Regions from separate parts of the Homo sapiens genome. Here all the other regions are linked to region 4. Evidence: promoter capture Hi-C in 16 types of primary human blood cells and fetal thymus (Javierre and others, 2016). All regions are on one chromosome and are shown on one strand. The core of a region is centred on a gene start or on the middle of the fragment in contact, and the rest is flanking DNA. Distances in the headings are between cores, read along the strand shown. Region 1 has its middle 11 kb from the start of MIR9851. Region 2 has its middle 36 kb from the start of MIR9851. Region 3 holds the start of SPMIP5 (sperm microtubule inner protein 5). Region 4 holds the start of VAX1 (ventral anterior homeobox 1). Region 5 holds the start of LOC105378498 (a long non-coding RNA gene). Region 6 overlaps ENO4 (enolase 4).

The links. Contacts are between HindIII fragments. The CHiCAGO score rates a contact against its expected background, and 5 or more counts as called.
Region 1: a fragment that was not itself captured here is called in contact with the fragment with the promoter of VAX1 in region 4 in 3 of 17 cell types (endothelial precursors, activated CD4 T cells and M1 macrophages); the score reaches 5.4 in endothelial precursors.
Region 2: a contact is called between a fragment that was not itself captured here and the fragment with the promoter of VAX1 in region 4, in 7 of 17 cell types (M0 macrophages, megakaryocytes, M2 macrophages and 4 more). The highest score is 9.2, in M0 macrophages.
Region 3: a contact is called between the fragment with the promoter of SPMIP5 here and the fragment with the promoter of VAX1 in region 4, in 15 of 17 cell types (naive CD4 T cells, endothelial precursors, megakaryocytes and 12 more). The highest score is 11.3, in naive CD4 T cells.
Region 5: a fragment that was not itself captured here is called in contact with the fragment with the promoter of VAX1 in region 4 in 2 of 17 cell types (monocytes and activated CD4 T cells); the score reaches 5.6 in monocytes.
Region 6: a contact is called between a fragment that was not itself captured here and the fragment with the promoter of VAX1 in region 4, in 3 of 17 cell types (M1 macrophages, endothelial precursors and M2 macrophages). The highest score is 6.4, in M1 macrophages.

The regions. Positions count from the first base shown.
Region 1 is chr10:116,814,314-116,819,238 of GRCh38, reverse strand. It overlaps a transcript of HSPA12A not described here. Among named protein-coding and RNA genes, the nearest start is that of MIR9851, 11 kb to the left of the region's middle. The HindIII fragment of the contact is 776 bases long and covers 2,644-3,419 here.
Region 2 is chr10:116,789,567-116,794,306 of GRCh38, reverse strand. It overlaps a transcript of HSPA12A not described here. Among named protein-coding and RNA genes, the nearest start is that of MIR9851, 36 kb to the left of the region's middle. The HindIII fragment of the contact is 605 bases long and covers 2,400-3,004 here.
Region 3 is chr10:116,666,882-116,671,291 of GRCh38, reverse strand. It overlaps SPMIP5 (sperm microtubule inner protein 5), which reads left to right and starts at 1,326. Exons shown (of 6, transcript NM_001350931.2): 1 at 1,326-1,365; 2 at 2,969-3,034. The coding sequence starts at 2,980. It overlaps HSPA12A (heat shock protein family A (Hsp70) member 12A), which reads left to right. Exons shown (of 12, transcript NM_025015.3): 12 at 1-100. HSPA12A-AS1 (HSPA12A antisense RNA 1) reads right to left here and starts at 1,237. Exons shown (of 3, transcript NR_187551.1): 1 at 1,014-1,237; 2 at 807-898. The HindIII fragment of the contact is 1,303 bases long and covers 515-1,817 here.
Region 4 is chr10:117,136,528-117,141,376 of GRCh38, reverse strand. It overlaps VAX1 (ventral anterior homeobox 1), which reads left to right and starts at 3,107. Exons shown (of 3, transcript NM_001112704.2): 1 at 3,107-3,561; 2 at 4,718-4,849. The coding sequence starts at 3,321. RefSeq lists enhancers at 352-937, 938-1,524. The HindIII fragment of the contact is 11,137 bases long and covers 541-4,849 here.
Region 5 is chr10:116,772,475-116,777,188 of GRCh38, reverse strand. LOC105378498 (a long non-coding RNA gene) reads left to right here and starts at 3,189. Exons shown (of 3, transcript XR_946339.2): 1 at 3,189-3,637; 2 at 4,670-4,714. It also overlaps a transcript of HSPA12A not described here. RefSeq lists an enhancer at 1,814-2,313. The HindIII fragment of the contact is 4,474 bases long and covers 698-4,714 here.
Region 6 is chr10:116,867,541-116,872,277 of GRCh38, reverse strand. ENO4 (enolase 4) reads right to left here. Exons shown (of 14, transcript NM_001242699.2): 8 at 3,572-3,628; 9 at 986-1,153. Among named protein-coding and RNA genes, the nearest start is that of ENO4, 20 kb to the right of the region's middle. The HindIII fragment of the contact is 1,170 bases long and covers 2,526-3,695 here.

The DNA.
Region 1 (4,925 bases), core at 1,782-4,281, 320 kb after region 4:
AGGGCTTCTCAACTGGATGATGGGCATTTGGGGCAGAAAGGAAAGCAAAGGCTGAATCTCAGAACTGGGAAAATGCAGGTGATTTTGGGACCAGTGAATAAGCAGGGTGTCACGGGACACAGGGCTTGGGGGTGCTGCTTGTGAAGAAGAGGAAAAGTCAAGGGTTTCCCTTGTGGAGCATCTGTCTCAGGGAGAATGGGACCAATGGAGACAGACACATGGGAACATCAGACCCAGAGAGACAGGAATCCAGCGAGAGAGAGTGACAGGGGCTGCAAAGGGTTAACAGAGAAGGTCAAGGTACAAGCCTGGAAGCAGGAAGGGTGCCCTTAGGTGCGATGATTGCTCCTGGAGACACACTGCAATGTGTTGGGGGTAAATCTCTCACCATTTTCCTTTTATTTAAAATTCTTACCAAGACAGATTTTGATTTTTACACTCACTGATGGAAACAGAACCATGATTTAGGGATCACATACTCCCATGTCCCTTGTCCTAACATTTCTTATCTCTGACAGTTACATTTTTCCCTCTGGGACATCAGACCACTGTGTCAGTGTGTTGTGGGGAGGTGCTTGTGGCCTTTGCTTTGGTGGGGACAGCACATGGAGATGTAACTGTGTCCCCCTTCCATACGTCACTGCCATTACAGTTTGCATCAAGCAGCTGAGCAGAGCAGGGAAAAGAACCAGTGGGTGACCTGGGACACCACGATCTGACTATGGGGCGGGCCCAGAGTCTACCTCGCTGGGCTGGGGCACAATCCTACAGGGGCCAAGAGAGACAACCTATGATGCAACTGTGTCCCCCTTCCATACATCACTGCCATTATGGCTGGCATCAAGCAGCTGGGTAAAGCAGGGAAGAGAACCAGTGGGTGACCTGGGACACCACCACAGGGTAGGTCTGGCTGTGGGGCAGGCCCAAAGTCTACCTCCCTGGGCTGGAGCATGATCTTACAGGGGCCAAGAGAGACAACCTACCAAGGCTCGTAGGTCCCTGATTGTGACCAAGCTCATATGCCAGGTTGAGGCATTGAGACTTGATTCTGTAGCTCAGGGAGAACCATCCAAGTTCTCAAGGAGAGGGTGAGGTGGTCAGATGTCTTCCTAGTTGGAGAGGCCCCTACTGGCAGTGTGTGGCCAGGGAAAGGTGAGAGGCAGGGAAGCCAGACAGGAGGCTGATGCAGTTGCCCAGGTGAGAAACGATCACTCCTAACTCAGGGCAGAGACCCTGGAGAGGAAGAGGAAGCTGGAGGGGAGAGTGTCATTGTAAGGTCAGGTAACAGGAATCGGCGCCTAATTGGAGGTGGCGAATGATCCAGGATGTCTGCCAGGTGTCTGACCAGGGCAACCGAACTGCTGCTGCTGCTCTCAGCATCCGGACGGAAAGCAGTGAGATGGTCTTGTATCATCTTCATGTTTGCAGCTTATCTTGACTGACCCACATTCTTCATGTTTGCAGATTATCTTGACTGACCCACATTCTTCATATTTGCAGATTATCTTGACTGACCCACATTCTTGAGGCAGAGGGTTTTTTTGGGGGACTTTGGGTGACAAGCCTGAAATATTTTAACAATGGCCGCGATTCTCCACTTCTCTTCATTCTATTGGCAGCCTGACACCCATCGCTATGGTGGTGGAGCACAGAGAAATCTTAAATAGAAGATCATTATGTGTAGGTATGAATATGCCATCCCCCCCACCCCCACCCACACACACACACTGGATTTCCTCTGCCAGAGCCTTGAACCGAGCGAATAGAAGACCAGCCTGTCCCTGAACTTGACGGCATCAGGAGTAGCTCCACTAAGGTCACCGCAGAAGGCTGTGCCGAGGGTTAGCACCCAGCACAGAAGCCGGCACCTTGTTCCCTATTGTCTCTGGAATGCCATTGTTTTAATTAAGCCGACTTTGTAGCCAGGGTTCATTCACTACAGACAAAGCCTCTGTTAGAAAAAATTAGACCTCAGAAACTTCTAGAGAGCGAGGGGTGGAGGGTGGAATCACAAGCCACTGGCGGTAGAAGTTTCTGTTCTAAATCCCCGGGAAAAAAAACAGCAAATGGGTTTCTCCTTTTGTTAATTGTAACAAAAAAATAATAAATATGAAGTAAATCTGCATGGTGGGGTGGGGGAAGGGGTATAGGTTGCAAGAATGATTCTTTCTTTCTGCCTAAGAAATACAGTTTAAACAATCCAGATGATTCCAGCAAACTGTAGATTTCATGTTTCCACATTCGACAGCATAGTTGATACATAAGAAGGAAGAACGATTTGAATCGTGATGTCATGACTGGAGCTGCTGATTGTTTTAACACAGCTCAAGGATTGATTTCCCCACCAGAAAAATAAACTTAGCCTCAATCCAATACTGAGCAAAGGTGTTGTTGGAAGCGTTTTGTAACCCAGAGCATAAAAAGTCATCTTTTAAACCATAGTACCAGAAACTGGCGAGGGCTCCAGGCAATTTTAACCCTCTGGTATTTCTCATTAGGAAGACTTTTGTCACCCTGAAAAGAAGGAAAAACCCCATTTAAAAAAATCATGAGTGGCAGATTTTCAGGGAGACCACGCAGCTGCAACCATCGGAATTGGATGTCGGGGCTGTTTTACGTGAGCAGGACGGCGCCGGTTAAGCTTTCAGGAGCTGTGTGTCTCACCAGCTTAAGGTTAGGAAGTCAGGTGCGTGAGCCACATGGCGCCTTCTCTGCTCGCTCCTTCAGTGACATGATTTGGGTGCTGTGAAGTTTGGAGTTAGAGCTGCTAAAAACTCCAGGCCTCGGAGAAAAGGTGAAGAGTGCATTGATCAAACTGTAATTTGGAACATCATTGCCTGGCACATGGCCAACATTCTCTGCCCCGTATGCGGGGTGCCAGAGACCAGGCCAGGTGTCCTCTGCCTCTGGGGATGGCAGCTGAGCAGGAAGAACAATGGTTTCGGGAATGTTTTATATAGTCACTCGTCTGTCAGGGGCAAGATGATATGAATGTGGCAGAAAGAATGGCTTATTTGGAGCTGGAAGGTCAGCGATTGCTGAGTAATCAGGCTGAGTAAGCCAGTGGTCTTTGCGTGAGGGCTGAGACTCCAGTTCTGGTATGCCACTCACTCCTCTCTGCGGCCAGCATGCGAGTTCCTTTCCTTCTCCAAGCCTCAGTTTCCTCTCCCATAAGATGAGGAAGTAGCACCCACCAGAGAGGATGCGTGGGCTTTGATGGAGGTAATGCACCTGCACAGCTCAGCACAGAGTCTGGCCCAGTCAGTGCTCAGTGAGGATTTGTTCCAATCCACAGCCCGGCTCCTTCCTCTTAGGGCCGCGGGGGCCGAGAGGGAGAGCAGAAACACGAATTCCCTGGAGATACACATTTTGTCTTACAGATGCACTGCTTGGGAATACAGCCCTTCCAACAACAAGCTTTCTGTTTTTGAGCCTTGTCAACAGCACATGCCGAGCAGCAGGCAGAGTGCACTGAAAAGAAGGATTTGTGGCTGGCAGCGTTTGGTGGGGGAGTTGGAGGGAGTGGCCCGAGGGAAAATGACAGAGTCAGGGCCCTGCCATGTTATCCTAGAGAATCTACTTACCTGTATAAAACGGGGTAGCAGTTTCCTAGTTCCTTCCTGGGTTTTTTGCTTATTTGTTTATTTTACTTATTTATTTTTTTGAGACAGGGTCTCACTCTTCTGCCCAGGCTGGAGTGCAGTGACGTGATCTCGGCTCACTGCCATCTCCGTGTCCTGAGTTCAAGCAATTCTCCTGCCTCAGCCTCCTGAGTAGCTGGGGCTACGGGCACGCACCACCACACCTGGCTAATTTTTGTATTCAGAAAATTACATGTGGAAATGGGGTCTTGCCATGTTGGCCAGGCTGGTCTCAAACTCCTGGCCTCAAGTGATCTGCCTGTCTTGGCCTCCCAAAGTGTGGGATTGCAGGCATGAGTCCCTGGGCCTGGCCCTCTGTCTATTTTTTTTTTTTTTTTTTTTTTTTTTTGTCTTTTGGATCTGAGGCAGAGGATATCCACCACTCTGGGCAGATTTATAGGTGACCCAAAGTTGGAAGAGGCTGGCTGATTGATCAGCTGCTGATTTCAAAGATATCTCAGAAATAAGAAAAGAGCTGGTGCTAATTAAAAAAAAAAATGGGTAGGGATAAATGTAAAGTCGTGTACTTAGGTTCAAAAGTCAACTGTAAATAAACTGCATAACTGCAAGAAGAGGGGATGGTGTAAAAAGAGTGTAGGGTTTATCCCAGTTTACTGAAAAGATCAGACTGCCCCTTTGCTGTCTGCTCTCCATCTGATGGGTTTTAGGAAACTAAGTCTTAGCTCTGGTTGAAGGGAACTTATTCCCCCCTTTATAACGTAGGCTGTATTTTTAGAAAACAAATTTGCAACCCAATCACCCTCTCATACAGAACAGGAGAGGTATGTAACTTCCCAGCAAGGTGATGGTGGTGAAAGATGATCCCAATCTCGCAATGGTCCGTGGTACTCATTCCCAGATGTCCTTACCTGGTGGTGATTCAGCAGGTCCCAGAAATGTCCTTTCTCTTTTGGCTCTGAGCTGTCTAGTCTGGCCCAAGTCCTGGTCTGGCCTTTCCACTAGGACACAGCTGGATGAGGGGTCATCAGGAATACTGGGGAGGGAGGGTGGAGAGTGACTGCCAGCAGAGAAACTCCAGTTTTTACAGTTTAGCAAAAATGTTCAAACCCATTATTGGCTGGAGTTGAGTGCAAAGTCCCATGGGGGAAAAAGTTCATCTTTGGTGCAGGTGGGTGTAGGTAGCAGATGTGGCTTTTCACTTGCTGAGATATGTCACAGGTGAGCAAAGATAAGGGAAAGGCTAGGAGGCAAAAAGGGGGTTCCTGTATGGATCCTCACCAACAGCTGGCCGCCCTCTGCCTTGGGAACTCCACTTATATGTCA
Region 2 (4,740 bases), core at 1,453-3,952, 350 kb after region 4:
AAAGTTGGATTTAAAATAAATCTTATGTGATACTCTTTATCTTTTACCAGGAGCATTTGGTCCCTTTATATTTTTATTTTTATTTATTTATTTTTTTGAGACGGAGTCTTGCTCAGTCACCCAGGAGTCACTGGAGTGCAGTGGCGCGATCTCGGCTCACTGCAAGCTCCACCTCCCGGGTTCACGCCATTCTCCTGCCTCAGCCACCCGAGTATAGCTGGGACTACAGGCGCCCACCACCACGCCTGGCTAATTTTTCTTTAGTATTTTTTAGTAGAGACAGGGTTTCACCATATTAGCCAGGATGATCTTGATCTCCTGACCTTGTGATCCACCCACGTCAGCCTTCCAAAGTGCTGGGATTACAGGCGTGAGCCACCGTGCCCGGCCTGGTCCCTTTATGTTTATTGTAATTATTGATATGTTAGGACTTTATGTGCCATCTCATTTTATGCTTTCTGTTTTTCTTTTTCTCTCCTTTTCTTATTATATTTTCGATTTTTTTTCTCATTTTATATTCCCCCTCTAAGTAGGTTGGAAGTTACATATTCTGTTTCCATTATTTTAGTGATTGTCCTAGAAATTATGATATGAATGTAACGCTTTTACCTTCCTTCTATATAGTACAAGGATCTCAGAACAATTTTATTTCATTCTCCCTCTCTTGATTTGCATGCCATTGTTGTGATGTCTTTTAATTCTGTGGGTTTTTTTTGTTTGTTTGTTGTTTTCAGTGGGGACAGGGTCTTGCTCTGTCACCCAGGTTAGAGAACAGTGGTGTGATCGTGGCTTACTGCAACCTCAAGCTCCCAGGTTCAAGCAGTCCTCCCACCCCACCTTCCTGAATAGCTGGTACTACAGGTGCATACCACTATACCTGGCTAATTCTTGTATCTTTTGTAGAGACAGGGTTTTGTCATGTTGCCTAGGCTGGTCTTAAATTCCTGGGCTCAAGACATTCACCTGCCTCAGCCTCCCAACATGTTGGGATTACAGGCGTGAGCCACTGTGCCCAGTCTGTTTTGTTTTTCTTTAACTCCATAAGGCATTATCATTGTTGTTTTATGCAGTTAATGTTTATTTAGTGTTTTTTATTCCTTTTGCATTTTAGATCTTTAAACTTGGATCCATCCTTTAGAGTTTCCTTTATTGTAGTTTGCTAGTGGAGAATTCTCGTAGTTTTTGTTGTTTTGAAAATGTCTGTATTTCACCTTGTTCTTGAAATGAATTTTCACTGGGCATAGAATTCTAGGTTGACAGTTATTTTTTCTCACAGCACATCAAATGAATCATCCATTCTTCTAACTTCCATTCCTGCCAATAAAAAGTCAGCTGTCAAACTGTTGCTCTGTTGGAGGTTATCTATATTTTCTTTCTGAGTGCATTTAAAATCTTCCCTTTGTCTTTTTAGTCATCAGTTTCAGTATGATGTTTCAGGAATAGATTTTCTTTTTCTTTTCTTTTCTCTTTTCTTTTTCTTTCTTTCTTTCTTTTTCTTTCTTTTCTTTTCTTTTTTGAGACAGGGTCTTACTCTGTCACCCAGGCTGGAGTGCAGTTAGTGGCACGATCTTGGCTCACTGTAGCTTTGACTTCCTGGGTTCAAGCGATCCTTCCACCTCAGCCTCCTGAGTAGCTGGGACCACAGGTGCACACTACCATGCCTGGCTAATTTTTTTTTTTTTTTTTTTTTTTTGTAGATGCAAGGTTTTGCAAAGTTGCCCAGGCTGGTCTTGAACTCCTGAGCTCAAGCAGTCTGCCTGCCTCGGCCTCCCAAAGTGCTGGGATTACGGGCATGTGCTACTGCGCCCAGCTGATTTATTTTTATTTTTTCTTGCTTTGGATTTATTTTGTTTTGAATCCAGGGGTTGATAGTTATCATTAGTTCTGGAAGGTTCTCACCCCCATATATCTTCTTATATTACCTCTGCTTCATCTACTTTCATTTCCTTCTAGAACCTCTCACTCCGAACTCTTTGTCTCTTAACCTCCTTTCACATTTCCCAATTCTTGTTCCTTGATGGATAATTTTTTTTTTTTTTTTTTTTTTGAGACCGAGTTTCATTCTTGTTGCCCATGCTGAACTGGGGCTGGGTTTGGGGTTGTCCCACTCACATGCTTACGTGATCAACGTACATGCATGTACGTGGCTTCCCATGGATTAAAATCATGCATGTAAAGTTCATGAGCATGGTGTCTGAGACCTGAAAGTGTTCAAGAAGTATTTATGGCCATCATTATTATTATATTATTATTATTAATGATATCATTATTACATTCCCAGGAAATTCTGATCTGTTGGGTTAACATTTCCAAGGTGCCAAGCTGTGGGTCTCTTCAAGAGAACAGAGACACCTGGGCAGGATGAATTGGCATCTTTTTGCCCAGCTAATCGATAAGCTTGGAACTTTGTCTGGGACATAGTAGATGCTTGAGAACACCCAAGGCAGGAGTGAAGCCTGTTTACCGAGATGGAAGATTCTGCAGGCAGGGAAACCACATGCCCGTGGAAGAGGAGAGGTGAACTCGGGGGTGCTGGCAGGGGCTGGAGGTGGGAGGTAGTGAATAGGAGATGCCAACCTTTTCTCAACAATTTAGTTGCATCTTAGGGAAAATGGGGGCTGAGGAGGGCCCTATGATGACAACTTGAATTGGGTAAAATTTAAGGATAAGGAATTACTAATTAGTAATAAGGTAGAATTCTTAAGTGTATGAAATGAATAATATGTAGCTAAAAAATAATGATATAGCATTAGGCATTTGAGACATGTGGACTCCAAGCAATTAACCTCTATTCTTCTTCTGAATTGCAATTGCACTAATTGGCTGCTTTACTCTGACGGGGCGATATTAACCTTTCTGCTTTTCTCTAAAGGAGCCAGTATGTTGGGTGGATGTGCTGCTCTGGTTTGGAGGAAAGGTATTTTTCCTGAATAATAACCTATTTGCAATTTTTCTCCCAAATGGTTGCATTGAAAAGGTTCTGTCAGATTTTCTTGATAAAGCTTCATCTATGGAAAAGATGCTTTAAACACATCTGACCTCCTTTGGGAGCAGTTGGGAGAAATGGCCTATCTAGGCTCTTCAAGCTTCAGACATCCTTGTGTTAATAGCTTCTCCTTCATCCAAGCAGCACACACTTGTGGAGGGAGGGCCTGCACATTCCAGGCCTGTCCTGGGTGTTGGGGACACAGCACTAGCCAGACAGTCTCCTGCTCCTGTGCAGCTTGTAACTCAGTGAAAGCAGAATATCAAAGGCAAATAAACACGTAGATTTAGAATGCAATCCCAGGGCTATGAATACAAAGATAACTGGACGGGCCAGGTGCAGTGGCTCATGCCTCTAATCCCAGCACATTGGGAGGCCAAGGCGGGCGGATCACTTGAGGTCAGGAGTTCGAGACCAGCATGGCTAACATGGTGAAACCCTGTCTCTACTAAAAATACAAAAATTAGGTGTGTGTGGTGGTGCGCTCCTGTAGTTCCAGCTACTTGGGAGGCTGAGACAGGAGAATCGCTTGAACCTGGGAGGCAAAGGTTGCAGTGAGCCAAGATCATGCCACTGCACTCCAGCCTGGGCGACGGAGTGAGACTCTGTCTCAATAAAAAAATAAAAAATGATAACTAGACAATGAGATGGGGTCTGGGAATGGAGAGTGTCCTTTAAGGCAGGGTGGGCCAGAAGGCTTCTCTAAGGAGGAAATATTTGAGCTGGGCTGTGAATGAAGCCAGGGAAAGAGGCTTGTGAGTAGAGGATCAGTATTCCAGGCAAAGGGAACAGCAAGTGCAAAGGCCCTGGGGCTGGATGTTCGGGGAGCGTCAGGAACAGCAAGGTGGCCAGTGTGCAGCATGAGTGGGCTGAGGGCAGGAAGAGGAGGGAGACGTGAGGTTAGAAAGGTCATCAGGGGGCTGGGCGTGGTGGCTTACACCTGTAATCCCAGCACTTTGGGAGGCTGAGGCAGGCGGATCACGAGGTCAGGAGATAGAGACCATCCTGGCTAACACGGTGAAACCCCGTCTTTACTAAAAATACAAAAAATTAGCCGGGTGAGGTGGCGGGCGCCTGTAGTCCCAGTTACTTGGGAGGCTGAGGCAGGAGAATGGCGTGAACCCCCAGGGCGCGGAGCCTGCAGTGAGCCGAGATCCCGCCACTGCAGTCCGGCCTGGGCGACAGAGCGAGACTCTGTCTCAAAAAAAAAAAAAAAAAAAAAAAAAAAGAAAGATTATCAGGGTCCATACCATGCAGGGATTCCTGGGCCATGGGAGGACCTTGGATTGATTTCCAGTGTGCAGCAAAGCTACTGATGGAGCGTGGGCAGGGTCTGGTGAAGGCTCTCACTGGCTGCTGTGGAGGGAATAGACAGAGGTGGGTGAGGATGACAGTGGGTGTGGAGGTGCAGCCATAAATGGAAGCAAGACCTTAAGAGGGACGTCTGGGCATCCGGTGAACCTGACCCGTAGTCTGGAGAGAGCTTCCAGGGATATGAAGCATGGCCAGAGATAATGCCCTCCTCACCTAGAAGCAGACATTAGGCCCTTCAGAAATGCAAACGGGCACTGAACAGTCACGTCAGCTTCACTCTACGACGTGTTGATAGTCAATATCCTGGATGATGCACCTTAAAAACGAACCCTCAATTCCATGCCTAGGAATTTACTCAGCAGGAATAATCAGACAAGTGCACAGTGACTACATCCAAGGTACCACTGTAGCTTTGTTCCTGGCAGAAAAAGTATAAGCAG
Region 3 (4,410 bases), core at 77-2,576, 470 kb after region 4:
AACTTCACAGAACTTTGCAGCAGTTCACCACCAGACGGGACTGTGTCTGCAAACTCTCTTGTCTTCACAGACGCCTAATAAAGCAAAACTCTGAATCTCATGTGGCCCAGATTTTTTTTCCCCCCATCCTGGGTTTGCAAACTGCATGATGGACACGTCAGTACTGATCTCCCTCTCTACCCCATCTCAGGTGGTGGAGAGAGAGTTTCAGTTTTTTCCAGGTGCTGTAAGTTTTCTTAAGTTATTCTAACAAGACTAGGCCCTTTGTTTGCTGGGAACCAAGGCCCCATCGATGGGCACAGAGCCCCTTTTCTCTGGAAGAAAGTGGTCTAGCCAGAGGGAGGGCAGGTAAGCAGAGTGACCACTGCCAATGCCACTGCACCCCAGTGTAAGTCATTAAAACATGCAGAAGGCCTGGCTGGGCTCTTGCCCCTGGGCATCCCAGCCGTCACGTGAAACTGGCTGTGTCCAGAGCCTACACCTGAGTCGCCCTCCACAGTTGGCTCTGAAAGCTTCCTGATGGCCCGAGGTATGTTCTAAATGGGGTGATAAAAGAGAGGTATAAATGGTGGTCGGCTCCACCAGCCTTCATTTGCAGTTCAATTTTCAGAAAAGTAGAGGTAGGGAAGGCCGGGAGGTGCAGCAAACAAGCGTGTCCTGGAAGTAGCGCAGCTTCAGCGTCATTTTCTGTAAAGGGAGCAGCCAGCACATGCTGGTTCATAGGGCGGACATCTTGGTGGGTTTCAATTCAATGAGAGGAAGTCTGGGTGTCCCTCCAAGAGTGATTAGAAAGAAGGATGACTCACCTTCCCCAGGTGGACAGCCACTCCTCTCTGCCTTCACCTGTCCCGGCCACCTGAAAATCTGCCCCTCCTAACAGGAGACAGGGAGGGAGGGGCTGCCAGGCCCAGGAAGCTCCTGTATTGGAGGCGCCAGGGCCCCCAGGCCTCGCCTCCTCCCGCCCACTGCCGGCCCCGCCCCCTGTTCCCGCCCACCCGCTTCCCCGGCCAGACCTGCAGACCCAGGCGCCGCAGTGTCTACACCCGCAAAAACGCCCGCTTTGACTTAGAGCCCTCCGCATATCCTTCCCCTGGCTGGGGCAGCCAAGGCGCGGAGGACAGCTCCGAGGCCAGATGTTTACTGCGCAGATGCCCGACTTTACACCGGGGTCCGGGCTGTGCCGGGCGCTGGGGGAAGCGCCCACCTTCCAGGTGGGACCGCGGGAAGGGTGGGGGAGGGGCAGGCTGGCGGTGGTGGGGCCTTTGTGCTCCACCGGGTGAGCGCACAAAGGCCTGGTGGAAGGCAGGGATCCTGGGCGGCCGGGCAGAGGCCAAGTGGGCACCGGATAGCGCCAGCCCCGCCCAGGTGAGCGCTGAGGTGGGATTGGAAGAGGGTGGCTAGGAGGGGCCCTACTTTCTACCCACTCCTAGCCCCCTTTCTCAGGACACCGCCTTTCTTCCCACCCTCCTCCCTGCCCACCTCCTCCAGGCAGGCTTATACCCCAGCTGATGCTTTTGGGCAACATATCCTGTCCCTGAGAGTTTAGAGGTCATCTGTTCGCACCCCCTTTCACTCTGGAACCCTGAAACCAGTTACCTAACCTCTCTGTGCCTTATTTTTCACATTTATAAAATGGGGGTTCCAACAGGAACTCATTCTTAGGGAAGCTGTGGGGATTAAAGGAGAATGCGGTTCTGCTGCAACCACATGGGGATAGCCAGTGTTCCCTGTCTGTTGCCTTTTTAAATTGGGGAATGGGTATAATATAGCATTTATATCATGGGGCTGTTGAGAGGATTAAACAAGCGTGGAAAGCTTTCAGAAAAGTAAGCAGGTGGTCAGTATGGGTGGGACATGGTCTCACAGCCAGGTCTGTCTGACTCCAGGCCCAGTGCTTCCTCCCAGGAGTCAGGTACGTGATGCCAGGGGTTAGAGTGGCCTAGACGCGGCACAGTCCTCACTGCTGTCAGCCTGGCGGGGGCTGAACTGTCTTAACAATCCCCATCATTGCTGACTAAGCCATGACTGTGGCCCTCTCCTCCACCCTGAATCCTCTTCTTCCAGCCTCAAAGGCATTTCTTTAAAGAGATGAACTGGCTCAGCAGGGCAGGACTTGGCAAGGCCTCAGCCCACTTGGGGGGAATGACCAGCGATACCCAAAGAGGGAAGGTGTCTTATTGCAGAAACAGCATCCACATAAACTGATGTTTCAGTGGAGCCCCCTGAAGCAGAGGGTGGCCTCTGCTTACCCTCCTTGGACTCCATGTCTGCCTTTTGGGACTTCCTGATTCCTTCAAGCCAGAATTTCTTCTCCCTTGTTTGTGTGTGTGTGTGTGTGTGTGTGTGTGTGTGTGTGTGCATGTGTGTGCCGGCGGGTGGGGGGAGGCTTCTGAGCATTGCAGGATGTTCAGTAGCATCCCATCCCCCACTTCTGACAGCCAAATATGCCTCTGGACATTGCCAGATGTTCCAGGGGTAATGGTGGGGGCTGGCAAAAATCACCACTGCAACCTGATTTCACCTGGATCAAGAAGGAGGTCTGGGGGTGTGCGGGCCTCATCTCTCTCCTCACCTGAGGCTCATGAACCTAACACAGGGGCTTCTGGGCTTGCTCAGAAGCTTTGCATTCCCAGCCTCTATCATGTTTCACAGCCATAGTATGAGTACAGTTCACAATTGTTGGATGGCTGGAGGTCGGATGGAGGGGAGAGGAGACCCTGGTAGGTGTGATCTACACACTGTTATCCAAGTTAACATAAAAGGTGATGGGCCCTTGGTAATAGGTCATTGGTTTGTGACTGAAGCCAGCTGTGTCTCTGGCTTTGGGTAAGGTGGTAGTGCTGCCTCTCAGCCCCAACTCCTGGCAGTCATTCTTCCACTCCCAAGAGCTTGTGCACACTCAATAGTAATTCCTTAAGGCAGTGACTTTTGATGAGACCGTTTCATTCCCTCTTCCCTCCACTAACAGAGAGCGAAATCATGGAGCCTTCCAAGACCTTCATGAGAAACCTGCCAATCACACCAGGCTATAGCGGTAAGTGTGGACGTACCCTGCAGCTGTGCCTGGCAGGGGAACCCGGGTCCTGGTCACTGTCCCTGCCTTGACCCACTGTCTGTGTCTGTGCAGCCAACTGGACCAGTCTAGGCGCTCTAGCTTCTCAGACATGCATTGAGAGCATTCCATCGCTGAAGATGGCTGATGGCCGGGTTCTGAGGGGCAGAACTTAGACCACACGTCCCAGAACATGGCCTGGTATGCAGAGGAAGCACTTAATGCCTGTTGAATGAATTTGGACCAGGATAGACACAATGTGATGAGGATAGACACAATGTGATGAGGATAGACACATGAATAAGTAGAGGCCCTGTTCTCCCCAAGTTGGTTTTCTCAAGTCCTCCACAAAGGTTATTCTTGTGCTCCCATCCTTTCCTGCATCCCCTAAAGGAAGGCTGGCCAACTGCCCTGGTCTACCTGGGACTGCCTTTGTCCTGGGACTGCCTGGGACTTTCCTTAACACTGAAAATCTTGCATTTGGGAAACTCCTCAGTCCTTGGCAAACCAGGACGATTGGTTGCCCTACCTAGAGGCTATTCCTCCTCAGGCTTCTGGGCTACTGAGAACTTACTAAGTCATATCCCTGTGGGTGACAAACCCAGTGGTCCCCACAGACCCTTGGCTCTCCCATACAGCCGTTCTCAGGAGGAATAGTACTTGGGTGATATTCCAGGGTTGCCCAACCTCACTCTGGTCCTAATGGCTGGTTGAGAATAGGCTTTGGGTTCTGACAAGCTGAGGTTCGAATCTCTGTTTGGTCACTGTCGATGAGACTGTAAGTAACTTGCCTCTCTGTGGTAAGTACAACATTCTATAAAATGGATGTATTTGTTTTCTAGGACCACTGCAACAAATTACCACAAACTATGTGGTTTAAAGTGATGGAAATGCATTCCCTCACAGTTCTGAGGCCAGACGTCTGAAATCGAGGTGCCCGCAGGGCCATGCTCTTTCTGAAGGCGCTAGGGAAGGATCCCACCTTTGCTTCTTCCAGCTTCTGGTGGCCCCAGTGTTCTTGGCTTGTGGCAGCATCTCTCCAGTCACTCTCTTCATCCTCACACGGCATTTCCCCCTTTGTCTCTGTGTCACAAGTCTCTCTCTTCTTTCCTCTATAAGGACATCAGTCATCAGATTTAGGACCCACCCTAAATCCGGGATGATCTCATTTTTAGGCCCTTAACTTAATTACATCTGAGAAGTCCCTATTTGTAGATAAATGCACATTCACAGGTACCAGGGGTTAGGACTTGCATATATCTATTTGGAGGATACAGTTCAACCCACTACATGGGATACCATAAGATTGTTGTGAGGATTAAAGGAGCCAGCATACATAACCTATTTTAAATGTCTTG
Region 4 (4,849 bases), core at 1,858-4,357:
GAGGCCAAGGCGGGCGGATCACGAGGTCAAGAGATCGAGACCATCCTGGCCAACATGGTGAAACCCTGTCTCCAATAAAAACACAAAAATTAGCTGGGCGTGGTGGCGCGCGCCTGTAGTCCCAGCTACTCAGGTGGCTGAGGCAGGAGAATCTCTTGAACTCGGGAGGCGAAGGTTGTAGTGAGCGTAGATCGCGCCATTGCACTCCAGCCTGGCGACAGAGTGAGACTCCGTCTCAGACAAACAACAAACAAACAAACAAATAGTTCCCCCTTACAACAAAATATGCCACAAGATGAGGGAGGGCAGAAATTTCCGAGGCCAAACTTAAAATTTGCATTTGGGATTTGGCCATACTTTGGCCGTTCTCTGTGGCAGTGAATGCGGCTGCAGACGTCCCAGCGCCGCCATTGCCCACAGGGCGTGTCATTTCTAAGGGCAGCTGTTTGTTCCCTGACTGCCCCCGCCCCGCCCCCCAGCTCCCCCATCTACCTAAAAGAAAATGTAATGGGTTGGGCCATTTTTATTTTTTAAAAAGCTTTCTTCCAGGTCTTTGACCGGGCGCCGCAGGTGTCCGCATGGGTTTCCCAGGCCGCTGCGGCCTTCACCGACAGAAGGAGGCCGTACAGAGGGGTGCGGCCGGGCCGGGGACCCAGAGCCATCTGGGTCCCATTTGGGCCAAGGCTGCGGTTTGGGACTTCCGCCGCCTGCAGGGCTCCTAAAGGGCTGAGGAAGGCCTAGAATCCTCCTGCGCACCCGATCTCGCGTAGTCCGAGGGTCCGACCCCTCCAACCCCTCCAGGGTAGGGGGCAAGGAAGGGCCGGTGTGCCAGGGAATTCGGTCGCACCCCTCCCTGCCCAAGGAGGCCCAGGAGCTCCCTCGGGCCGAGCTCTGCAGGGAAGTGAATGCCCCATCTGCTGCAGGGACCCCCATCAGGAGGACCCGAATCCCAGGGACCCGCACCCGCGACGCGGTAGTGGGAGTCAAGACCCGGCGGCTGCACCCCCGACGGCTTGGCCGCATGGGAGCAAAGCCCTCGGTGCCTCAAGGCGCCAGTCTGGGCTTTTGAGCGTTGCGGGAGGTAACAGGAGAGTTCGCCGGATTTTAACACAATCCCACTCTACATCTTCAGAACAGGGTGGCCGCAAAGTCCCTTACCCCTCTTACCCGTCTCTGCTCCCACCCGCCTCACCAACCCGCCGGAGCAGAGCTCGTAATCAAAGGCACTTTCCCCGGGCGCCCAGTCGGCGTCGGACTTCGAGGGCAGCGTGCGCAGCGAAGCCGGGCTGAGGGGCGATCAGCCCGCTGGGGACCCTGGAAACCCGCCGCCCTGCGGAGAGTAGCTCGGGACAGTTCCACCGCTCCGCCCAGTCAACTAAAGTGGAAGCCTGATGTCGGCCTGCAGGGCCAGAGATGCCCTCCGGAGCTGGGCCAAACCTGGGTGCCCCTAAGTGGCTGGAGGGGTGGCTGGGTGGACAGCGCGAAAGACCCCGCTCAGGGGGCCCCCTCCTGGCTTGGGACGGTAGAGGGGTCCCGCGGGGTGGCGGCGGAGGCAGGGGAGGTGGCGGCGGGGCGGGAGGTGCGGACGGTGCGCGCGTCGCTGCGAGCTGGAGCCCCTAGGGGCCCGCCACACACACTCGCACCCCTCCCCCTCCCGGCCTTCCTCCCACCCGCTCGCCGCGACCCCCTCCCCAACCCCCTCCCCTCCCCCCGCCTCCGCCCCATTCTTGGAATTGTGTGGAAAAATTCTCAGCCAAACCTCCCACCTCTCCTCTCCCCCCACCCACCCCCTTTAAAAAACCCCTTTCCTCCCCGGCCCCTGCACTCTTTGTGAATGAGGGCAGGGAACACGGCCCTTCCCCCGCCCAGGAGCCACGCCAGACCGCCGCACTCAGAGGACTGTTTGTTAATAGTCCAATTAGATAATTGCCATCTTTCACTCCTTTTGCTCCGCATTTCCCATAAAGGAATGAATGGGGAGAGCGGCGTGGAGAGGGCTTCTGCCCCGGCAAGGTGACGAGAAGGGCTGGAGCATGCTCCTTGCACAAGGCCATGCGCTTGAATTGAATCATTGTAGCCTAATCAATGCTCTTATTGGATTACTGGCTGTTGCTTTTCTCAAAGATATTGTAGCAGAGACAATGAAATAGCTAGGGGAAAACTTTTTTTTTTTTTTTTTGAAGCAGATCTCACAGTTGAGATTTCTCGGCCGTCTCTCCCTCTCCCCCTCTCTCTCCTGCTGGACTCTGAGTACAAAGCTGCCCTTTGAATGGGCTGCCTCAGGGCTGCTGGAGGTGCAGGCATGAAAAAATCCAACTGGAACTAAATGAAGAGAGGTGGCAGTTTAAGATGGCTGTCTGCGTCGAGGTGTGTTAAGAAGGAGTTGTTTAGGGGAAAATCTTGGCTTTTTTAGAGTGCAAGGGAGATACTTTTTGGGAAAACTTTCTCCCCCCGCTCTGTCCCCCATCCCCCACTCCCAGACAACTGCTTTCTTCTGCCGCAGGGTGCGCAGGGTTTTTTTTTTCTCCCCCCACACCCCCCCGCCGCCCAACCCTCATTCAGCTCTATCTGGCGAGTGTGGAGAAAACCCCTCTAGCCAGTATGTGAGCAGGAGGGTCAAAGGCAAAAGGAAAGTTAATAATGCCTGCTAATGGTACTAACAATTCAGGATGAATCTTGTCAAAAGTTTTTCTGGAAGTGTGGGTCTTTGATTGTGTGTTTCCTGAAAGCAAGACCAATCATTTCCGTTTATTCACTGGCTAAACCCCTACTTGATTGGGGACAAGGACAGAAACCATCCATTACGATCTGATATATTATCCAAACAATTTAGTGTATTCATGAGGTAACCGAAACGTGGGGGCTGCGAAATTACCCGTAATCAATTGCAACAGCGAGTGTGCGTCCCCCCGGGTGTCGGACAACTACAACTCGCCGTCTCAGAAACAGGCGGGAGCCGCAGCATTTCGGAGTTGCGCTGTTCGCTACCTGATCGCCAGGCTGGGGACACTGGACGTGCTCAGAGGACGCGGGTGCTGACGAGGCGGCCTCGCCGCAGCTCCACCAGGATCCTGGACCAGACTGGCCGCCTCTCGGCGAGCGCGCCACTCTCCCGTCGCCGCTGACCCGCGCGCGGCCGCCGAAGCCTCCCCGCGGGGACATTCATTCTTGCCCCTTGCCTGTCGCCGGGCCGGGCGTACGGGCCGCGTTGTCGGGGGTTTTGTCCCCTTTTTCCTCTTTTTTTTTTCCTTCTCCGCCCCCCCCCCTTTTTTTTTTTTTTGCTTTTTTTTTCCTTTCTGTTTTTGTTGTTGTTCTTGCCTATGTTCGGGAAACCAGACAAAATGGACGTTCGATGCCACTCGGACGCCGAGGCTGCCCGGGTCTCGAAGAACGCGCACAAGGAGAGTCGGGAGAGCAAGGGCGCGGAGGGGAACCTCCCAGCCGCCTTCCTCAAGGAGCCGCAGGGCGCCTTCTCAGCGTCGGGCGCTGCTGAGGATTGTAACAAAAGTAAATCCAATTCCGCAGCGGACCCGGATTACTGCCGCCGGATCCTGGTCCGAGGTAGGGATGGGCAGGGCTGCCAGGCGCGTTCTTTGGGGTCGACTCCGGGGCCGGAGCTGCGCGCTGCCGCCGACACAGGCCGGTGGGAAGGAGTGCCGGCTGGGACTTGGGAGAAAGTTGTTGGCCCTCCCCGCCCCGAGTCCGGCTGGGGACAAGCGCCTGGGACTCTCCGGTGCGCTCTCCAGGGGCCTCGGCCCTCCACGCCCGGAGGGGCCCCGCTGACCGGGCTGCGGGGGGAGATGAGGGGCTGCGCGGGTGCGGCCGGGCATCGGGCTGCGGCCTCCGACCCGGGAAAGGAGCAGAAAACTCCGGGAGGAGGTGTGCGCGCTCCAAGGGCCGGACGACCTGCCGGGAGCCGGCCAGGGGACTCCCGCGCTCTGGAGGGCTGAGCGCACCCAAGGGGGAACGCGAGCCCCGGAGAACAGCTGCCGATCGCGGGCTACGGCCCTGCCAGTTAGTGCACTGGGCCGAGGACCCCACGGCCGCGATCGGTGCCCGACCGCTGCCGCCGGGAGAGGCAGCTGGGCTTGGTTACGGAGCCGCGGTTGCCGCTTTGGTGCTCTGCTCTGCCGCTCTCGGATGGCGCGGCGTGCACTTAGCCCCGGCGGCGGAGGCTGCGAGGCCGGGCCCCGGCCCGGCGCCGCCCCAGCCAGCAGCAGATCTCCGGGCCCGGCCGGCCCCGACTCAGTCCCTCCTCCTTCCGCCGCGCGGACTCCGGAGGGAAGGAGACTCGAGGGTGGGGGTGGGGACGTCTGGATCACGGTCTGGTCGGCAAGCCCAGAGCTGGGGCCCGCAGGACCCGGGCGGGGCGACAAGGGTACCCTCAGGCTACAGGGGACCCGGAAGGCTCAGCCGAGGCCCCCCCAGGCCGGAAGAAACGTCCGCCTATGTGGAATTGATTGGATTTTTTTCTCTCCCCTGTCTGGAGGACTCTACAAAAAGACAAAGTGTGGTCCCTCCTTCGGTCAGCGGTATGGAGTTAGGCCCCTTGCCCTCCACACAGTGTCTTTGCTACCTGGTTGTGGTCGCGCTCCGCACCCCGCCCCCCATCCCCAAAACTGCACGCTTCTGGGGACTGTGTCCCCAAATCCAGCTCGGGCCAAGGAGGTGGAGGGGGACGGGAGGGTTCTGGCGGCTGACATCTCCCCTTCCCCAGATGCCAAGGGGTCCATCCGAGAGATCATCCTGCCCAAGGGCCTGGACTTGGACCGGCCTAAGAGGACGCGCACGTCCTTCACCGCGGAGCAGCTCTATCGGCTGGAGATGGAGTTCCAGCGCTGCCAGTACG
Region 5 (4,714 bases), core at 1,685-4,184, 360 kb after region 4:
CCACGCGGCAAGAACTTAACACCCGGGTGTTGACGAGGCAGGGAAGAAAAGGGGCGCATCTGCAGCTCAGCGCCCCTCCAGCCTGGCTGGCGTCTCACACTACTCATGTCAGAGAACAATTCAGCGGGCTACACAGGAGCCATGGTCCACCCAGGAGCTTTCTTACAACCTCCTTCCCCTGTGCATTGCTTCCTTGATGCTTCTGCAGTAAATCAAATTAAAAGCAAACTTGAACCAAGTCCAGGTTGTCAATATCTCCCATTCTCGAACCTAGTCCAGATTCCTGGTACAGACATTAAGCATCTTATATGATGCCTCACATCCCTAAATTATCATATTTGCATCAAACTTTTAAGGATATACATCTAAAATACATTCTGAAATAGTGTTTATGATTCTAATTAAGATTACATTAAGCCCAGTTTTTAGAGTTTTAAGCATTGTATATGGAGTTAACAATTAAGAAAATAAAACTCATGTATTTTTAATTGCTCTTATATTTTGATGCTCTGTGGCATCCACTGAATCAATGGCTTGAGTACTTCAGGGAAGCGGTGGATTCTGCTACAATAATAAATTCGTTGTTCACTTTGACGATCAAATTAGGCTTTCCATTTTGTTTTGTCTTCTAGGCAAAACAATAGTCTTGAATGCCGGGTTTTGTTAAGAAAAAAAAAATTTTCTGAATTCCAAAGCTTCTTTCTAAATATAAGGAATCAATCCCGGCTGATTTTGAGCGTAGAGTTTTACTGTAAGCCATAAATAGAAGGAATTCTGGATACAATGGAAGTGAGTTCCTGGGAGACAGGAAGGCAGAGGAGAAAGCACTATGCTTTGCCTGGGAGAGGTTTGTTGGGGGTGAGACCAGCGGGAGGAAGCGGCCAAGAGCTGGAGGCTGCTTTGAGCGAAATCCCGAGGCAGAGGGGGGCGTCCAGGCGGACGGACCTGAGATGCTCCTTGTTGTCCACCCATGACACCTGCCTGTGTCCCACAGGAGTCCCAGGGGTGGGCCACAGAGGTGCTGAGGCAGGGAGGGGGTGAGGTGGTCACCCAAAACAGGGACCTGGGAACCAGGAGCAGTGGCACTTGTCTTGGGTACTGGGGGGCAGTCAGCTCAGTGGACAGAGACCAATGGGATGGGTCACTTAACTGGAGGCCAGAGGGGACGCAGAGGATGGCAGGTAGACCCAAAGCCCCTCACTCACCACCAACGTGAGGCCACATTAACTTCTTTTATGGCACTCAGCTGCCCCCAGTCTAGTCCCTGGTGGAGTCACATAAGAGAGTCTGTGCCAGGCTGGGGACCACAGTAGAAGGCATAGCTCCCCAGCTGCAGGAGCCCTCACAAGACCCCAGGGACAGAGAGGTCATAGGGGCTGCAGGATTAGGCCAGGTCACTGTCTCGGGGAGGAGTTGGGAAAGGGCTTGAAAGCCCCCTGTTACTTCTGTGCCCTGATGTCCCCAAATCCTCTGGCCCCCTGGCCTGAGTGTTTCCTTTAGCAAGCAAATGAAATGGCCCCAGCACCTTCCCAGCATCCGAGCACTGAGGAAAGTCAGGGCTCACCCAGCACTCCTGTGGGGAGAGGCGGGAGGTCCTTCTTCCATCCCCTCTCATCGGGTGCCCTGAAAGTCAGTATCACGAGGCTGTCAGTGGGAACAGACAGAACTGACCAGGAAACAAACTTCACGGTCAATGTTAGATTTCCTGTTTCTAGAAAATACATTGGCCATTTCCAGCTACAGAGACTCCCTTCCCAGGCTGCCCACTGGCTGGCCCCCGTCCTCCCCAGGGCTCTCTAGAAGAGACAGTGTGGGGTGACAGAGAGAGCTGGCTTTGCAACCGGACAGGCAGGAGTTCAAATCCCAGGCTCCCGTCTCACTGGCTATGTGGCCCTGTGTGACCCTGGGATCTTTCCTTCCTGAGTCTCAATTCATCCATCTGTAAAATGGGAGTCCTGAGGCCCTATCCATAGGTTTGTGAGTGGTGGGATAACTGATATAAGGAACTCGCACGTTCTTAGTACAGAATCAGCACTTGGTAAATGGCAGCAATTGCTGCTATTGGCTTCTGGCCCAATCCCTTGGGGGCACCTGTGCCAGGTGTCTGGGAGGACACTAATAAAGAGTGACTCAGCAGAGACAGCCACAGGATGGGCGGGAGGGAGCAAAGGAATGCTGGAGTCCCCCAAAGCAGCACAGTTGGGAGCAGTGGCGGTGGGTGTGTAGCAGTCGACCTGGGGCCCTTGGGGAGGGAGTGGAGTGACAGGATGCCAGCTGGACCTATGCCATGGCAGTATAGCCAACACGAGGGGCTGGTGCAGGAGCCGGCAGGACTGGGGCCTGCAGGGGCCAGGGTGGAGGGCTCCAGGCTTGTGCAGCCTGCAGGGTCAGGGTGGAGTCAGGCCAGGGCCACGTGGGCAGGCATGGGACTGGGGGAGGAGCTTATTCAATGGTGGACCTGGGTTTTCTGGTGGGTGAATGAAGGGGTGCACAGAAGGCCTCCCTCTCAATGTCCCACTCTCCAATCCTTTCTCCTAAGAGATGGATCTGGGCCATGAACTCCTGCTCCAAAAGGCCAGTCCTCTAGCAGAGCCACGTCTGTGAAGAGACCCAAGAGCACCATTGACATTTCTTTATTCCAGGGGTTCTCACACTTTGGCAAGAGTGTGAGATGTGCAGTTGCTGGGCCCTACCCAGAGTCTCTGGGTCAGTAGATCTGCCTTGGGGCCTGAGAATTTGCATTTCTATTAAGTGCCCAAGAGTTGTTAATGCTGCTGGTCAGGGACCACACTGGTCAGGGACTGAACTAGGCATTGGTGCAGTATCACCTGGGACCCTCGCAGAGTGCTCTATGGCAAATATTTCAAAAAAGCCCTTGCCGGCCGGGCGCGGTGGCTCACGCCTGTAATCCCAGCACTTTGGGAGGCCGAGGCGGGCGGATCACGAGGTCAGGAGATCGAGACCATCCCGGCTAAAACGGTGAAACCCCGTCTCTACTAAAAATACAAAAAATTAGCCGGGCGTAGTGGCGGGCGCCTGTAGTCCCAGCTACTTGGGAGGCTGAGGCAGGAGAATGGCGTGAACCCGGGAGGCGGAGCTTGCAGTGAGCAGAGATCCCGCCACTGCACTCCAGCCTGGGGGACAGAGCGAGACTCCGTCTCAAAAAAAAAAAAAGCCCTTGCCACAGAGCAGGTTCCCCCACCCCATGTCATAGTGAATGCCACTCAAGACCAAAGAGGGTAAGTAACCTACCCAAGGTCATTCAGCTGAATGGTGGCATAGTTATCATTTGTAATTAGGTCTCCTGGCTCCAAGTCCTCCACCCCGTCACCATGATAATGACCATTGTCAGCATCATCACCATCATCGTCATCATCATTACCACAGGCACTGTGAGCTCCCTGTGGGCTGTTTTGCAGCTTTGCCCCTGCCCAGGACCAGGGACCAGCCAGAGCTTCATAATTGTCAGCTGAGTGGAATCCCTTCTTGGGGCAAGTCAGTGAGAAAGACTTTCTCAGGCTGCAGTTGACAACCCTTGGCTGAGGCCCCCACTGTGAGCTGGGCAGGTTGGCCAGGGAATAAGGAGGAGGAGACTGCTTACTTAGCATCAGTCAAGGTTGAGGGGCCATGGGCCAAGGTGAGGTTCAGAGGTGACAGAAGGGAGGCAGAACTGCTCCCTGGTCATGTTACCTTCTCGAAACCCGCTGGGAGCTGCGAAGGCAATTGTCACTCTCCAGTCTGGCTTTGAGTGACGCACAGCTCCCAGGCCTCCTGTCCTGTCTGCCCGCTAGGCTGTTGTTGCCTGGGGGTACCAGACCAGAGCTGAGGGTTCTGAGAAGGAAATGCAATTTGCTGTTGGTGTACCAGGCCTTCTTCTGTGCTACCATGTACTGCTCAGTGGACTGAAGCCTTTGCTCATTAGCAGGGCCTCATCCCAGGCCAGTTCATCCTGGGCCTCTGGAGGGGCTGGGGAAATGCCTGGGCCCACCTGGGCCTGCTCTTGCCTCCCTGGGACCTTGCCTGCTGTGCAGAGGAAAAGGAGTGGGAGGAAGGAGGGCCCAGGGGGAGTCAACGGGAGCAGCTGGGGCTGCAGTTGTTTGGAAGTCCCCTGGCTCACCCAGACTTTTAGTCTAGCTAGGGTCCCCGGTCCTGACTGAATGAGCCCCTTCTCAGAAGAACCACAGGTGGCCAGGTGCAGTGGCTCATGCCTGTTAATACCAGCACTTTGGGAGGCCAAGGTGGGAGAATTGCTTGAGACTAGGAGTTCAAGACCAGCCTAGGCAGCATAGTGAGACTCTGTCTTTACAAATAATAATAATAATAATAATCAGCCAGATGTGGTGGTGTGTGCCTGCAGTCCCAGCTACTTAGGAGCCTAAGTTGGGAGGATCGCTTGAGCCCAGGAGGTTGAGGCTGCAGTGAGCCGTGATCACACCACTGCACTCCAGCCTAGGCAATAGAGAGGGAGACCCTGTCTCCAAATAAATAAATAAATAAATAAACAAATAAATAAAATAAAGATAGAAAGGAAAAGAAAAAGAAGAACCACAGGCTTTCCTAGAGCAGAGATAGGGCCCAGGGATAAAACTTGGAACTTTGGAGCCAGACAGCTTCGGGCCTCATTTGCTCTCGTGCCTTCAAGTTGTGATTTAACTTCTCTGGGTCTCAGTTTCAGCATCTGCAAAAGGGCTGTTACAAATATTCCCTGAAAGCA
Region 6 (4,737 bases), core at 1,861-4,360, 270 kb after region 4:
AGTTTCCCAAGTTTAAAGGTAAATTGCCGTTGTATTACCCTGAGGAAGTGAAGACTAGAATGTTGCTTGTTTTTTGTTTTGAGATGGAGTTTCACTCTTGTTGCCCAGGCTGGAGTGCAATGGCACGATCTTGGCTCACTGCAACCTCCGCCTCCTGGGTTCAAGCGATTCTTTTGCCTCAGCCTCCTGAGTAGCTGAGATTACAGAAGCCCACCACCACGCCCAGCTAATTTTTTGCATTTTTTGTAGAGGGGGGTTTCACCATGTTGGCCAGGCTGGTCTTGAACTCCTGACCTCAGGTGATCCACCCACCTCGGCCTCCCAAAGTGCTGGGATTACAGGCGTGAGCCACTGTGCCCCACCAACTAGGATGTTTTTCAATGAACCTGTTTTTCACTCTCTTTAGAATCTTTCTCTTCAGGTGGGTGGTCCCCAGGTGGAGTCTCGTCACATCACTAAAGCTCTGTCCTCCTAACCCAGGCTGTGGATAACACTGTGATGTGTTTAGTTGGACAAAAACATCTTCTTCATAAACTTCAATAACTTGGAAAAATTTTTATATTTAAAAAGTCACAGCATAAATTCTAAGAACTACATGTCTGGAAGCGCCTATCACATCATAAGTTACAACTCATCTACTTTTTAGGTTCGACAAATTCAGCATTTATCAACCAAATGCAGTTTGTTAAATTATTTTTCAGTAGCTTTCAGGATTGCAATGTAAGTAACTCATTTTACTTATCTTTATTGTAGAATTTCTATATATAATAATGACATTTTCTATTTAAAAAATTTTATGGTTATGTTATTCTGTGGTCATTAGCTAATTTGGTTTTCTCATTATATTTGGATCCTTCACACAATATTAATAAAAAAACAATAAGATCTGTTTGGACAATATTCAGATAAGCTCTTTTTTTTCTGAGTTCTAATTTAAAAATCATGGATCTCAATAGGAAGTGAATGTTCTGAAGTGGAAACTTACGTAGTCCATCAGCTCATGTCCAGCACAGTTGATAGCTAGATGCAGATTTGTTCCCAGTTCTAGCCCCAGGTTGGCACAGATTTCCTGTATTAGAAGCAGTGGCTGTTCTATGGAGTCACAGTTAATGGTTAAACAGCCAAGATGAGACATCTTGCCAGTGATCTGCTGCTGCAAGATCAAGAGACAATGATCCATGTCAATACAGCACATTAAGGTTCTTGGCGCTTCCTGTGATAAGCATGGTTTATGATCAGATATAGCTCTGCAAAGATCAGTCCTTTGATTCTCAATCCTACTTAGGATTGATTCACATGACTTAGGGCATATGATTCCCCTGCAGTATCTGGGAGTAATTTTCTTACTCCTGAGGTTTCCAAGTTTGGCCTGGGAGTGCACTTTTCTCTCTTTAGTGTGTCTGTGTTCTCTCTTTATGGATGCTGCCATTCCTTGTACATGGGGCTAGCCTGAGTCACAACCACCCAGTTGGTGAATCTCCAGGCCCTCCCTGTAAATGTCCACCCTGTCTGTCTCTAGCTCTGCCAGTCCTTTTCCTCCAAACCTGCTCTTTCGTATGTTCTGTTTTCTTCTAGATAAACGCAGCCATTAAAAGCATAGCCCTCCTTCAGGAGAAGTTTCATTTATTTATTTGTTTTGAGATAGTGTCTTGCTCTGTCACCCAGGCTGGAGTGCAGTGGCTTGAACGTGGCTCTGCAGCCTCGACTTCCCCAGGCTGAAGTCATCCTCCTTTCTCAACCTCCTGAGGAGCTGAGACTACAGGCATGTGCCACCACACCTGGCTATTTTTTTTATTTTTTGTAGAGACAGGGTCTCACTGTGTTGCCCAGGCTGGTCTTGAAGTCTTGTGCTCAGCACTCCCAAAGTGCTGTGATTACAGGTGTTGGCCACTTTAAAAGGATTGAAGACTTCCACTAAGAGGATGCAATACTGAAGATGGATTTTAGTGGAAGATGATTTCAGGACCCACATAACCCCAAGGAAAGACAGCTACTGCAAAGTCAGCCTTGATGTGCCCTCGCCATAAATTGCCACTATGCAATTATAAATTGAAGCAATATCAATGAATCTGAGGGCTTAAGGTAAGGGGTGTGTGTGTGTGCACCAAACTCAATGACAAACATGAACCCGGGAATGAATATTCTGTTTTGACTGGTGATAGCACTATTTTAATGTCAATGAGAAGAAACTTTTATTTGGCAAACAAAGCAATAGTTGGGGAAATTTTTGTCCATCAACTGAGTTTTGTTACAGAGCCTTCTAAACTATGAAAGCATCACTTATTTGGTGCTTACTAAATGCCAGGTACTGTTCTAAGCACATTACATAAAGTAAATACATTTACTCCTTACATCATACAAAGATATTATGATCTCCATTTTACGGAGTTAACTAAGTTGAACCAGATTTTAATCCAGGCAATTTAGCACCAGAGTTTATACCCCTAATTCTTGTGTGGCTGCCTCTCTGGAATCTATACTCTAGACTGTTTCTAATGGGAAAAAGAAAAAGTAGTAGTAAAGCTTATTACAGGGAAGGCTGATGTTGGTCTAAGTTTCCCAGCATGCAGAGAACCACCTGCTGGGATGAAGGCACAGCACTGAGAATTGGTGGCTTGTTTACCATCTCCACCTCTTGCAAGGCCTAATATTAGAAGGCTGTGCTCATTCCAACATATACAAACTGTTGACAGGATTTTACTTACCGCTGTATGTGTTCACACATTTCTCTTCTCTCTCCTGATCTTAAAAAGAAACTTCACTTTTTTATCTTTGCCATGTCTTCTCCCTTCTTTCCTAGCCCCTCTTTTTTTTGTCTTCAGCTGACTCTCATGTACCTAACATCAGGGTGGGGCAAAGATTGTTCGCTCACAAACCAAAGCAAATACTGCAGATGCGAGCAACCTTCACCCATGTGCATGCTCTTCAAAGTTCTTATTGGCTCTTCTATTTATATTGTTGAAAGTTTAGGCTATAATAGATACATCTATCAGCGCACTCACAATCACCAACGTGACTGACAGATCAAGTTCAGCTGGTCTCCCAAGGCTCCTGAAGCCAGCGAACGGGTTTTGACAAGGAGGGCTGTTCGCCTCACTCTCCTGGCAAAATCGGAGTTCCTGCAATGGTTCGTCAGAAATGATGCTTCAGTGCCTTTGGGGGACCAGATGGAAGGAATAGCCATCTTTTTGTGCTTCTTGTTTTTCTCTTTGTTAATAATAAAATGTAAAACATCCTATGTGCCTTTCAGCTAGTTGTCAGAGAGATTCGACTTCCCAAACACTTCCCCTATAGGGTCCAGTGTAACCCTACGTCTCATAAATGCTTCCTAGCCCTGTGAGATTCCAGATGGTCAGACAGCTGCTGCCAGCGATGGTCGGGCAGCCTGTTGCTGGAAGGCAGGGGCAGCATGATACTGCAGCTCTGGGGGTGTCTGGAGCAATATCACTATATGGTTTCCATTTGCCTCAGTCCTGGTCTTGGAGCAAAAAGTGACTATGGAAGATAAAAAGGGGCAGGAAATTTATAGACAGTGTCATATGGAAGGATGGTAAACAATATATAGACTTACTTGACCTCTTTTGCTTCCATCGTGCCCTTTTTTTGTCTCTGCTTTTGGAGGAGAGGGCTGTGGGGCAGAAGATAAAAATGTATCACCTGGAATTTTTAGCATGGCTGTGGCAGCAAGCAAAGCTTACTGCTCTGAGACCTGACCAGCAACACTGAATCTCACACACGTGTGCACACATACACGCACACACACGCACTCATGCACATAGGGATGATTCCAGCCACTCCCTACTTTATATGCCACAAACTATTTCTCAAATTCAGGAATGTGTTTCCTTTAGTTCATCCTTACCCTCTGCCCCCAGTCACATATATGGGGTGTGTGTACAGATTCATGCATTTCTATGCATATAAATAATGTGTTATTCACACATATATCATGAACTCCTGCTGTGTGCAGGCACCCTTTTTCTGCAGGAGGATACAAAGTCCCCTCCTTGCCCTTAGGGCTTAACCCCACTGCGGGATTTGCTTTTACAGGCCCAACATATTGTTTTGAATATTCTCAGAGTGCAAACACTTTCTCCTGCAGGGTGGTTTTGACTTTGATTTGAAACAGTCAAAGGTCATTAAATCTGGTGAATCTGGTGGGTGTAGTGTCATGAGGTTAAAAGCAAAGGTAATTCCCAAAGAGGCATTCCCACATTTGGGGTATTGGGTGCATATTATTGCAAGGATCTAATCTTTTAAAGGATGCTCAGCGTGTACTGATTCTGTAAACTGAGGCAGGATTGTCAAGCATAGGTATGGTTCACACTCAAGTATATGCACATACAGTGACCCTGAACAGAAGGGCAAAGGGAAGTCATGTGATGTGATCGGGGGACAATAGTGATTACTGGCTCCAATTCAGAATGGCAAACATTAAAGAACAGTCTTGGTTTGCATTATTATTGGATTTCTCATGTTTTTTATGCTCCCTCATTGAGACTTTTAAACTGCCTGAGGACAGGAAGTATGTTTTTCTCCCCTTTTGCACCTAGCACAGGGCCTTGCAACAGCAAAAAATAACCAGGGAAAAAAACAACCTGTGACATCTTTCTGTCTACCTTACTAAGAATAAGCTGTTACATAATGGAAGTCAAAATCTCCAGCCCCACCTCTACCCCTTTTCTTTTAAAGACAGGGTCTCACTCTGTCACACAGGCCGGAGTACAGTGGCACAGT